Regions from separate parts of the Homo sapiens genome. Here region 2 is linked to region 1. Evidence: promoter capture Hi-C in 16 types of primary human blood cells and fetal thymus (Javierre and others, 2016). All regions are on one chromosome and are shown on one strand. The core of a region is centred on a gene start or on the middle of the fragment in contact, and the rest is flanking DNA. Distances in the headings are between cores, read along the strand shown. Region 1 holds the start of ZNF227 (zinc finger protein 227). Region 2 overlaps ZNF264 (zinc finger protein 264).

The links. Contacts are between HindIII fragments. The CHiCAGO score rates a contact against its expected background, and 5 or more counts as called.
Region 2: a contact is called between a fragment that was not itself captured here and the fragment with the promoter of ZNF227 in region 1, in 1 of 17 cell types (total CD4 T cells). The highest score is 7.6, in total CD4 T cells.

Annotation. Positions count from the first base shown.
Region 1 is chr19:44,210,101-44,215,915 of GRCh38, forward strand. It overlaps ZNF227 (zinc finger protein 227), which reads left to right and starts at 2,432. Exons shown (of 6, transcript NM_182490.3): 1 at 2,432-2,485; 2 at 2,990-3,144. The HindIII fragment of the contact is 5,683 bases long and covers 1,508-5,815 here.
Region 2 is chr19:57,215,189-57,221,003 of GRCh38, forward strand. It overlaps ZNF264 (zinc finger protein 264), which reads left to right. Exons shown (of 4, transcript NM_003417.5): 4 at 1-5,815. Among named protein-coding and RNA genes, the nearest start is that of AURKC, 13 kb to the right of the region's middle. The HindIII fragment of the contact is 1,748 bases long and covers 1,439-3,186 here.

The DNA.
Region 1 (5,815 bases), core at 1,182-3,681:
GAAAAAATAAAAGGAAATAATGTCAATATTAGTGACTCTTTATCTCACTTTTGGTGGGATGCATTTGCATAGTCTTCTAGTTTTTTTCCCAGTAATCAAAAGTTGATGCATGGTTATTGATAATATTTTAGTGATCAAAGCAAATTTTTGTAGAAACCTTCCATCCATAATTTATGTGTCCTGTGTTTATCCCCTGAGGTTAACATTTGCTAACTTTTTATAGGGTAGTCATGAATCAGGCAGAATTTCCAGTGTTTTACATGTATTTATTCATTTGTACTTGATATCAACCCTATTATAGTCTCCATTTTACAAATGAAGAAAAAGGGGACAGAAGAAATGGAAGCACTAGTATTTTAATCTAGATAGCTTTATACTAAGGCTGTAATATTAGCTACTACACACTACTTTTATTAGTCTACAAGGCAAGAACCCACAGTAAGTCTTATTAGAGCAGGGAATATTTAAGCTATGGATGAAGACCGTCACCCAGGAGGGAAAAGAGTAGCAGGTTATGACAGAAGGAACACCAAATACAAAGAATTAGAGGCTTTTTGTAGGAGTACAAGTAATCCACTATGGCTGGACATGTAGAGTGGAAAGTGGATTCCAAGAGAGAAACAGCATCTGGAAAATTCCTGTTTGTGCGACTTGTTAAAGCATTTGAACCTTCTCTTAAGGGCACTGGATAGACATGCAGGTGAAAATAATCAAATTTCCATCTTAGGAGATATACTTAACCTCTCTCTGCCTCTGGATCCCAAAGAGTAAACTAGAGGACATTATTTGTTTTAAAAAAGTTGTGAAAATGGGCTAAGTGTGGTGGCTCATGCCTGTAATCCTAGCACTTTGGGAGGCCGGGGCGGGTGGATCACCTGAGGTCAGGAATTCAAGACTAGCCTGGCCAAGATGGCAAAACCCCGTCTCTACTAAAAATACAAAAATTAGCTGGGCGTGGTGGGGAGGGGGGTGCCTATAACCCCAGCGACTTGGGAGGCTGAGGCAGGAGACTTGCTTGAACCTTGTGTGAGGGCGGAGGTTGCAATGAGCCGAGGTCATGCCACTTCACTCCAGCCTGGGCAAAAGAGCCAAACTCTGTCTAACAACAACAACAACAACAACAACAACAAAACAGAACAAAAAAAAAAAGAAAAAAGTTGTGAAAATGTAGTGAGGGTCCCATAGTCTGAATAGTTTGAACTAGTTCCTGGCACATACTTGGTTCTTTATAAGAGATAGTTGTATATAACAGAATAAAGAATATATATTTAGTAAATGAGAACTGCAAACATGTACTGTAGTAGATATGTGGATATTTTTAGGTATTGCTCTCTTCTTTCAACCCTCAATTCTTGGAAACATCAATTCCATTATACATTTAAGCAAATAAAGATCAAGGTTTAAACACTGAAGTAATAAATTTGTTCATCTTTCAAATTCAGAAACTCCTTGAGGAATGATTACAGAGGCCCTAGTTGCTTTGTGGAGTTGATCTACCATATGCCAAAGCTTGTGTTTTCTATGTCTAGCTATCCTCAGTAAGCAAGTTGTTCTGAATTATATGACTGTGCTATTAAGAAAAGTGGAAATCCATAATATATTCTGCCTTCGTTGCATTTTTTGATTGCTCTTTCATTCTTTTAGTATCTAAAGAGTAGTTTTTCTATTAGTCGATCCTGTTAAATGTAAAAACTTAAAGGGTTTCCTCTGCCCTTTTTTTTTTTTTTTTTGGAAGTGGTGGGTATAATTCTATTAGTACAGGATCACGTGATCTGTTTCTTATAATAGTTTTTTTTTTCTTTTTTTTTTTTTTGAGACAGAGTCTCACTCTGTCGCCCAGGCTGGAGTGCAGTGGCACGATCTTGGCTCACTGCACCCTCCAGGGTTCAAGCGATTCTTATGCCTCAGCCTCCCAAGTAGCTGGGACTACAGGCGCGCGCCACCACGCCCGGCTAATTTTTATATTTTTAGTAGAGACGGGGCTTCATCATATTGGCCAAGCTGGTCTGGAACTCCTGACCTCGTGATCCGCCCGCCTCGGCCTCCCAAAGTGCTGGGAGTCTTTTTTTATTTTAGGGCTCCAATTCTTCACATATTTGCTGTTACTTTTTGTTAATAAGAAAAACCTAAATTCCACTGACATCAGAGAACTGCTTCAGCCTGGCTAAACAGCAATAAGCCGTGAAGAGGATTCTGGATGTTGTAGTCCGGGAGCTCCGAGAATTTTGTCACACTCTCCGTAACCCTCTCTCACTCGCTCGCTCCGTTTTTTTTTTTGTTTTTTTTTTTTTCAAGCGCGAAGAGGGCGGCACCTGGATGGTTTTTCCTTCTGGAAGTTCTGGGAAACGTATTCCAGAACTCTGTCCGGAAACAATTGGGCCGCAGGAGCGCGGGCCTTCTGGGAAGGGTAGTTCAGGAGCTCTGGGCAGGCAGAGCCACTTCCGCCCCGGAAAGCGAGGCCGCCACCATCTTTTGGGTCCGGGAGGTGAGTCAGCCCTGCACCCCCACGACCCCTCTTGAACCTTTTCAGCCTGTGCTTGGGAATAGGCGCTCCCCAGCCATCAGTCTTGGGATGGAGAGGTCGCGGCCGCGGCGGAGGCCGAGAGGCCGAGGGCGGGAAGTTTGCTCTCCTCCCGCACTTGGCAAGCAGCGCCGCTAGTTCTGTGGGTATAATAAACAGCGAGTTACCTATGATCCGCGCTCCTGTTTCCTCATCTTTAAAATAGCAATAAAGATAGTCGTTACTGTGTAGGGTTGTAATTAGAATTAAACAAGATAATACGGGTCAAACCTTAGAACAGTGGTGGCACCTGATACTGGGTTGGCTCCTGCTATTGATACAGTGATTCCCTCACAAGCGCCCTTTTTACTGGAAGCTCCAGTGAAGAGAGAAGAAAAGTCAGGGCTTTATGCCATGGCCTTTCTGTCGTATCCTTCAGGAGACCGAGCTCTTCCCGAACTTTTACAGATCTTTTTTTTTTTTAAGAAGGATTGAGTCATCGGGCTCCAATGCGTGGGGATGTTTACCGCCGTTTATCCGGGATAGAGACTCCATCGTGCTGACAGCATCCTTTTATTCACCGCCTCCGAATTTGCAAAGAGGAGGAAGGAGGGACTTCTTGGCTTCTCCCAGCATAGCCCCAGGTACCTGCTCTTGAACGCACTTTGTTGTTCCATTTTCTGTCCTTTCAGTTAATCAAGTTTCCGTCACTCAGTAAGTTACTACTGAAAAATGATGAAATATTTGTTGAATAAATGTGAGAGTGGGTAGGAAAACTACTTGGAAATGAGTATTACCAATAACATCTTACCACTTTGATTTTAAGGCATTCGTCTGTGGACCATAGCTATTGATGAAGTAGGTCTTGTTATTTTGTTATGAGGAAATTAGGCAGAGTTTATGTTATTAAATACTTTCCCGAAGTTATTCAACTGATAGTAAGAGGTGGATTTGGGATTGAACCCAAGCATTCCTTTTCAGACTGTGTGATCTTTTTTGTTTGTTTTTGTTTCTTTGGTTTTTGTTGTTGTTTATTTTCTATTCCTTTTTCTGAGTCTGTGGTCTTAATCTCAATGATACAGTCGTCTTCAGTTATCTTAAATAGTAATCCATATGGCTACCGGTGAGTCGTTGGAAATCAGCCTTGGGAATGTAGGTATGGATTTTACTGTGGAAGACCTCAAAAACTGCACTGATGAATTTTGAATTTTTTAGAAAAATCCTGCAACATCTCACTTACTTAATTTCATTCCATGTCAAAATATGTCATATTCTAGTTATAGAAGTAATGAATGCTCATTATAGAGATGCACTATCCAATCCAGTAGCTATAAGCCATGTGTGCCCTAGGAGCACTTGAAATGTGTCTAGTCCAAATTGAGATGTGCTGTAAGTGTTAAATACACACTGGATTTCAAAAACTTTGTACAAAAAATGTAAGATGGCTCATTGATAATTTTTTGTATTATATGTCAAAATGGTAATATTTTGGATACATTGGCTTAAATTATGTTGTTGAAATTAACTTCACCTATTTTTGTTTTTGTTTTTTTGCCTTTTTTATATGTTACTGCTAGAAAATTTAAAATTATTTATGTGTCTCAGTATATTTCTATTGGACAGTGATGTTATATTCAGAAAACTTAAATTACTTATAATAAAACTGCTAACACTTTAATGTGTTTCCCTTTAGTATATGCTATGGATGTTTCTCAAAATAGGTTTGGTATTCTGTGTAGTAGTTTTTTTCTTATTATGAAAATTTTCTTTTTTCTTTTTTTTTCTTTTTTTTTGTGAGATGGAGATTCACTCTTGTTGCCCAGGCTGGAGTGCAGTGGCGTGATCTCAGCTCACTGCAACCTCCACCTCCCAGGTTCAAGTGATTCTCCTGCATCAAGCTCCCGAGTAACTGGGTTACAGGTGTGCGCCATCACTCCCAGCTAATTTTTGTATTTTTAGTAGAGACGGGGTTTCACCGTGTTACCCAGGCTAATCTTGAACTCTTGACCTCAGGTAATCCGCCCACCTCGGCCTCCCAAAGTGCTGGGATTACCGGCGTGAGCCACTGCGCCCAGCCGAAAAATTTCAAGCATATTCAACTGTCAAAAGAGTGGTGCAGTGAATTCCACGTAACCAACACTCAGGTTCAACATTTGCTGCAGACCATCTCCTCCTCCTTCCACCCCACTTTTTTTTTTTTTTTTAAATTAGAGTGTCTTAAAGCAGGAGTCCCAACTTCTGGGCAGCGGACCTGGTACTAGTCTGTGGCCTGTTAGGAACCTGACAGCACAGAAGGAGGTGATTGGAGGGGTACCGCCTGAGCTCTGCCTCCTGCCAGATCAGCAGGGGCATTAGATTCTCATAGGAGGGACTGCACATGTGAAGGATCTAGGTTGTGCGCTCCTTATGAGAATGTAACTAATGCCTCATGATTTGAGGTGGAACCTATCATCCCCAAACCATCTCCCCCGCCCCCATCCGTGGAAAAATTATCTTCCGTGAAACTGGTCCCTGGTGCCAAAAAGGCTGCAGATGGTTGTCTTAAAGCATACGCCAGACATCAGGTCAGTTTTTTTTTTTTTTTTGAAACGGAGTCTCGCCTGTCGCCCAGACCGGAGTGCAGTGGCGCCATCTCGGTTCACTGCAGCCTCTGCCTCCCGGGTTCAAGCGATTCTCCTGCCTCAGCCTCCCGAGTAGCTGAGGTCAGTTTTTTTTTTATTTTCTACCATGACCTCTGAAACTGAAGCTGTAATTTGCCATTTGCTCAGTACAGTATATCTTTTTTTTGTTCTTTTTCTTTCAAACTTTTTTGTCATTATGTTTTCGTAGTGTCTTTTAGAATATATATGTATAATTTTTTTTTTTTTAGTGCAGTCTGGGATAATTTGCTTTTACTATCTGTGTGTATATTTTGTTCTCCTTTCTTGTCTTTTTTTGTTCAGTTTATTCCCTTTTATTTGTGCTCAACTGGTCTGGAGTTTATATGGTTTTGTGTCATTCTTCTAACTTTAAAAATATTCTCTTTCTTAGCAAATACTAAACTTAATCAGCATGTGTTCTTATTCTGAAGAATATTGAGACTAAAAAAAATCTGAAAGAAGATGGGGCCAGGTGCGGTGGCTCATGCCTGTAATCCCAGCACTTGGGGAGGCCTAGGCGGGTGGATCACCTGAAGTCAGGAGTTTGAGACCAGCCTGGCCAGCATGATGAAACCCCGTCTGTACTAAAAACACAAAAATTAGCCAGACGTGGTGGTGCGTACCTGTAATCCCAGCTACTCAGGAGGCTGAGGTGGGAGAATCGCTTGAACCTGGG
Region 2 (5,815 bases), core at 1,063-3,562, about 13 Mb after region 1:
CCAGAGATTTTTCTTCTGGAGGCTTTTAAATTACATATTTATTTTATTGGATAGGTAGAACTATTCGAAGTATCTATTTCTTGTGTAATAAATTTTGATAGTCTGTCCTGTTGAAGGAATATTTCATCTGTATTTGTAGCACTCCCTTATTCTTTTGATAGCAGGATCTGCACTTCTTTTTATTTTTAATATTTAAAATGTGCATACTCATTTTATGATTGAGTCTTCTTAGACATTTATCAGTTTTATTGCGCATCATGCTGAAAGATGTAATTTTTGCTTCATCTCTCACTTCAGAGAACTAGCACTTTATATTAATGATTTGTCTCTATTCTTGATTTCTTTGATTTCTGCTCTGATCGGTATTATATTCCACTTGCTTTGGTTGTATTTGGCTCTTTCTAACTTTTCAAGGTGGGGTTTTAGATTATTGATTTGAGATTTTTTTGCTTTTTTAATGTAAGCATTACATTGTATAAATTTACCTCATATCACTATTGGTTTGATCCCACAAGTTTTAATGTTTTCATTACATTTTAATTCTAATAGTTTTTATTTTTTGAGACATTCTCTCTTAGCCATGAATTATTTAATAGTATGCTTAATTTTCTGGTGTTTGGCATATTTGTTACTGATTTCTAATTTGTTCCATGTTTGATCTGACTGTTTAAATGTGTTAACATTTTTTTATGACCCAGGATAGGGTCTATCTTGTTTCGTATAGCTGCTTGAAAAGAATGGGTGTTCTGCTGTTACTGGGTGGAGTTTCTATAAATGTCTCTATGATCCTGCTCATTGTTATTCAAGTCAGCTATGTCCTTGCTGATTTTCTGTCCAGCATTTCTGTCAGTTGCTGAGAGGGGTGTTGAAGTCCTGAACATAGGCCGGGTGCAGTGGCTCACGCCTGTAATCCTAGCACTTTGAGACCACTAAGGCAGGTGGATCACCTGAGGCCAGGAGTTCGAGACCAGCCTGGCCAACATGGCAAAACCCTGTCTACTAAAAATACAAAAATTAGCCAGGCATGGTGGCGTGTGCCTGTAATCCCAGCTGCTGGGGGGCTGAGGCAGGAGGATCAGTTGAACGTGGGAGGCAGAGGTTGCAGTGAGCTGAGATCTCACCACTGCACTCCAGCCTGGGCAACAGAGCGAGACTCTGTCTCAACAACAACAACAAAAAGTCCTGAACATGATTGTGGAAGTGTGTTGCTCTTTCAAGTTCTATCACTTTTTGTTTGCAAAGTTCAAAGCTGTATTGTTTGGTACATATACATGTAGGTTTGCCAAGTCTTTGTGGTGAATTGACTCTTCTGTCATTATGTGATGTCATTTTTTTGCCTTTTAATAGTCTTGTCAATACTTTACCTGATGTTCTCATAGTGACTCCTGCATATTTTGATTAATGTTTGCATGGTTAATATTTCTTCATTTTATTTTAAAGCTTACCTGTATCATTACTTATGAAGTCAGTTTCTTTGAACAGCATATACTCAGGCCATGCTTTTTTTATTCATTCTGCATATGTCTCTCTTAATTGGTATGTTGAAATGATTTACATTAAAATAATTATTGATATTTTAGGGCTTAAGTGTGCCCTTAAATGATTTTTGTGTTCTTTTTTATTGTTCCTCTGTTATTTGGGGTTGTTTACTAGTCTTCCTATAGGTTACTTCACCTTTTTTTTTTTTAATAATTTGATTTGATACATATGTAGTGTTTTTTAGTATAGATCCTCCTTGACTTATGATGGGGTTATGTCACAATAAACCCATTGCAAGTTGAAAATACTATGTCAAATATGCATTTAATACACCTACCCTGCTGAACATCATAGCCGATCTTGCCTTCAGAATGCTCAGAAAATTTACATTAGCCTGCAGTTGGGCAAAATCATCTAACACAAGGCCTACTTTATAATAAAGTTACTGCAAAGAATTTTAAATAAAAATTCAAGTGTGGTTTCTACTGAATGCATGTCGCATTCGCACCATTGTAAAGTCAAGTAGTAAGTCGAACCATCCTAAGTCAGGGACTGTCTGTATATATCTGCATTTTTTAGTGATTGTTCTACTATTACAGTGTAAATATATAACTTATGACAGTTTAATAAGTTATCAGCAATTTAGCACTTTACTTCCATTAGGTTCCTTTAGCTTACCTACTAATGTAACTATCTTAAGTAATAGTAATTCCTCTTCAAAAATTGAGCGCTATGTTGCAAGATGTAATTTTTCTTTTCCTTTTTTTTGAGACCAAGTCTCACTCTGTCACCCACGCTGGAGTGCTGTGATGCGATCTCGGCTCTCTGCAACCTCTGCCTCCCGGGTTCAAGCAATTAACTGCCTCAGCTTCCCTAGTAATGGATTACAGGCGCCCGCCACCACGCCTGGCTAATTTTTGTATTTTTAGTAGAGACGGGGTTTCACCATCTTGGCCAGGTTGGTCTTGAACTCTTGACCTCATGATCCACCCGCCTCGGCCCCCCAAAGTGCTGGGGTTACAGGTGTGAGCCACTGCACCCGGCCACAAGATGTAATTTTTACTTTATCTCTCACACGTATTTTACAAAACGTCATGAGAAACATTGTCTCTTGACCTTTTTTTTTTTTTTTTTTTTTTAAAGAGACAGAGTCTCACTCTGTCACCCAGGCTGGAGTGCAGTGGCACGATCTTGGCTCACTGCAACCTCCGCCTCCTGGGTTCAAGCGATTCTCCTGCCTCAGCCTCCTGAGTAGCTGGGATTACAGGTGTGCGCCGCCACACCCAGCTAATTTTGTATTTTTAGTAGAGACGGGGTTTCACCATGTTGCTCAGGCTGGTCTCAAACTCCTGACCTTGTGATCCGCCAACCTTGGCCTGTCGACCTCTTTACCCATTCCATTGTTCATTCTTCTTTCTTGAAATCCCAAACCTTCTATTAACATTTCTTTTCAGTTATACACTGAACTTTACTGTAGCCTTTCTTCTAGAGTAACAAATGTTCTTTGTTTTCCTTCCTCTAAAGATGTCTTTATGTTTCCTTCATTCCCAAAGAATATTTTTGTGGAATATAAGATTCAGAGTTGGCAGTTGTTTTCTTTTAGACTTCAGAGATGTATCTCTCTGTTCTGTACATTATTGTTTAATATAAGAAACCTACTAGCATTCAAATAATCATTCCCTATTTTACAATGCATCAGTTCTGTCAAGCTTCATTCAAAGTGTTTTTCATTGTCTCTAGTGTTCAGAAGTTTGGCTGTGATGTGCGTGGCATGGAAGTTTTTGGGTGTATTCTATTTGGCGCTCCCTGGTGCTTGCCCAGCTTTTTGATCTGTAGGATTATGCCTTTTGCAAAATTTGGGGAACTTTCAACTATTATTTCTTCAAATATTTTTTCACCCCCCAGTCTTGTCTTTTTTAGGGACTTCAATAACATGAGTGGCAGATCTTGTTTTACACTCCCATGGGTCCTTCAGGCTCTCATCTTTTTTCTTTTTCCAGTCTATTTTCTGTCTTGTTAATATTGATTAATTTTTATTGACCTTCCATGGTCCTCACTGATTGTTTTCTTTGTCATACCTAATCTGTTGAGTTTGTGCAGTGAGTTTTCATTTTGGTTTTGTATTTTCCAGTTGTTTAATTTCCATTGGGTGGGTTCTTTTGTACACCTTCTGTTTCTTTGCTTATTTTTTAACGCCAAAGAAAGACTCTCAGAGAATAGACAACTATATTCCAAAGTCATGGTTCTCTGGTGGTTTGTCTTGACATTTGAATAGAAATGTTAAACTATCTGGGGGAATAGAAAGCCCACAGTCTTCTGAGTTGTGCTACACCAATATTTCTATGAACAGATCTTACAACTGAGAGTGATCTGCAGATTTTTCAGAGTCATGTTCTCCATGGAATGTTTGTAAAATTCCCTAGCTCTCTGCACTGAGCTGAGATCGTGCCACTGCACTCCAGCCTGGGCAACAGAGCGAGACTCCATCTCAAAAAAAAAAAAAATTCTCTAGCTCTCTATGCCTTGTTGTATCCTCAGGAAGGAGTCACCTCTCTTCCAGGATCACTCTTGCCTTTTGTTATTGGACACATTTTCCTACCTCCTGCCCAGTCTTTTTTAGGCTCTCTGTCATACTTCCTCGCCTAGTCTTTAACTTGTCTCTGATAACCAGATTTTTCCCCCATAATCTGTATCTGTATTCAAGTCTCTATCCTCATCCCCAAATGGATTTCACCCCGCTTGTCCATCAGTCTCTGCCCATTTCTTCTGTCTCCCACAGACATGGTCTGTGTAGTTGTTCTGCACACTACCCGTCCTCGCCCCTTCTCATTTCCCTCACTCCACGGACAGCTACAGGAGGGCTTCCATCATTTGTCCTCTTACTTCCTTGTTAGAACTTTGTGCTGCTGACCACCACTCTGAACCAAAACTTCTTTCTTGGTTCTTGAAAGTTGCTGTCTTTCTCCTCCAGAGGGTCTGTGTCTTCCTTCCAACTCTTAAACATTTTTGTTTCCCAGAATCCATCATTGGCCATTGCTTTTTCACTTGCCATGAGCTCTGTGAATGAGATGGTTCCTGCTGAAGACATTTACTTTCAATGATCTACAGAATTTCCCAAATCTATGTCTCCAGACTGGATGTTTCTCACGTCTGTGGCCCACTGGGCATCTTCTGCACTTTCTCTGCATTTGTAAACACTGAGCCTGTATGCGTGTCTATGTGGCCATGGCCCTGGCCGTGGGGATGCACCCATAATTATAATGAGAGCAGGTGAATGTCATGTGGCTATGTATGAGACATTGTTGTGAATGTTTTACATGCATCAGCTCTTTCAACATTTACAGCATCTGTGTGTGGTAGGTAATGTTGTTTCCTTCATTTTGCAGAGCAGAATATAGATAGGCTCAGGTTAAGAATTTGCCCAAGGTTACACAGTTATGAAGTTTGGATTTAGGAATGGGAGGCCACGTAGACTGGCTTCAGAATTCATGTCTTTAACCACTTTATTGCTTCTCATGTTGGGGGGTTTGTTTTCTGGTCACTATTTTTACTAAAGTTGATTCAACAATGCTATAATCTGTTACTCTCATTCGACAATACATCTTGACTGTTTCTTCAACTTGAGGAAGGTAAACCAAAGCCACTCTTTAATGGGTGCAAATATCTGTTGTAACTATGTAGAAGATACAGTGTCTGGGTTTGAGGACAGGGGAGTGGGAAAACTGAGTAGGGAAGCGGTAAGACATGCATCTGGCTTTAGGAGTGTTTGAAGTGCCTAAAGATCAGGGTGAATTTCCCAAATTTGAATCTTGTTGCCCAAGCCACATTGCAACCACCTCTTTTTCTCTTACCTCGTCCCCACATCCAGGCACTGCCCCATTCTGTTCATTCCACCTTTTTTTTTAGTAGACCCTCCATATATGTGTGTGTTTTGGTGAATGGCCACACACAGCAAAGTTATTTTTATTGCAATTTTGTTGTTGTTGTTTGAGACACAGAGTCTCATACTCTGCCACCCAGACTGAAGTGCAGTGGTGCGATCTCAGTTCACTGCAACCTCCATCCCCCCATGTTCAAGCAATTCTCCTGCCTCAGCCTCCCAAGTAGCTGGGATTACAGGCATGGGCCACCATGCCCGGCTAATTTTTGTATTTTTTGTAGACACGGGGTTTCACCATGTTGGCCAGGCTGGTCTCACACTCCTGACCTCAGGTGATCCACCCGCCTCGGCCTCCCGAAGTGCTGGCATTACAGGCATGAGCCACCACACCCAGCCTTTATTGCAATTTTTGGTTCCCTCACAGAATGTTTACCATGAAGCTGTGCGTATAGGTGG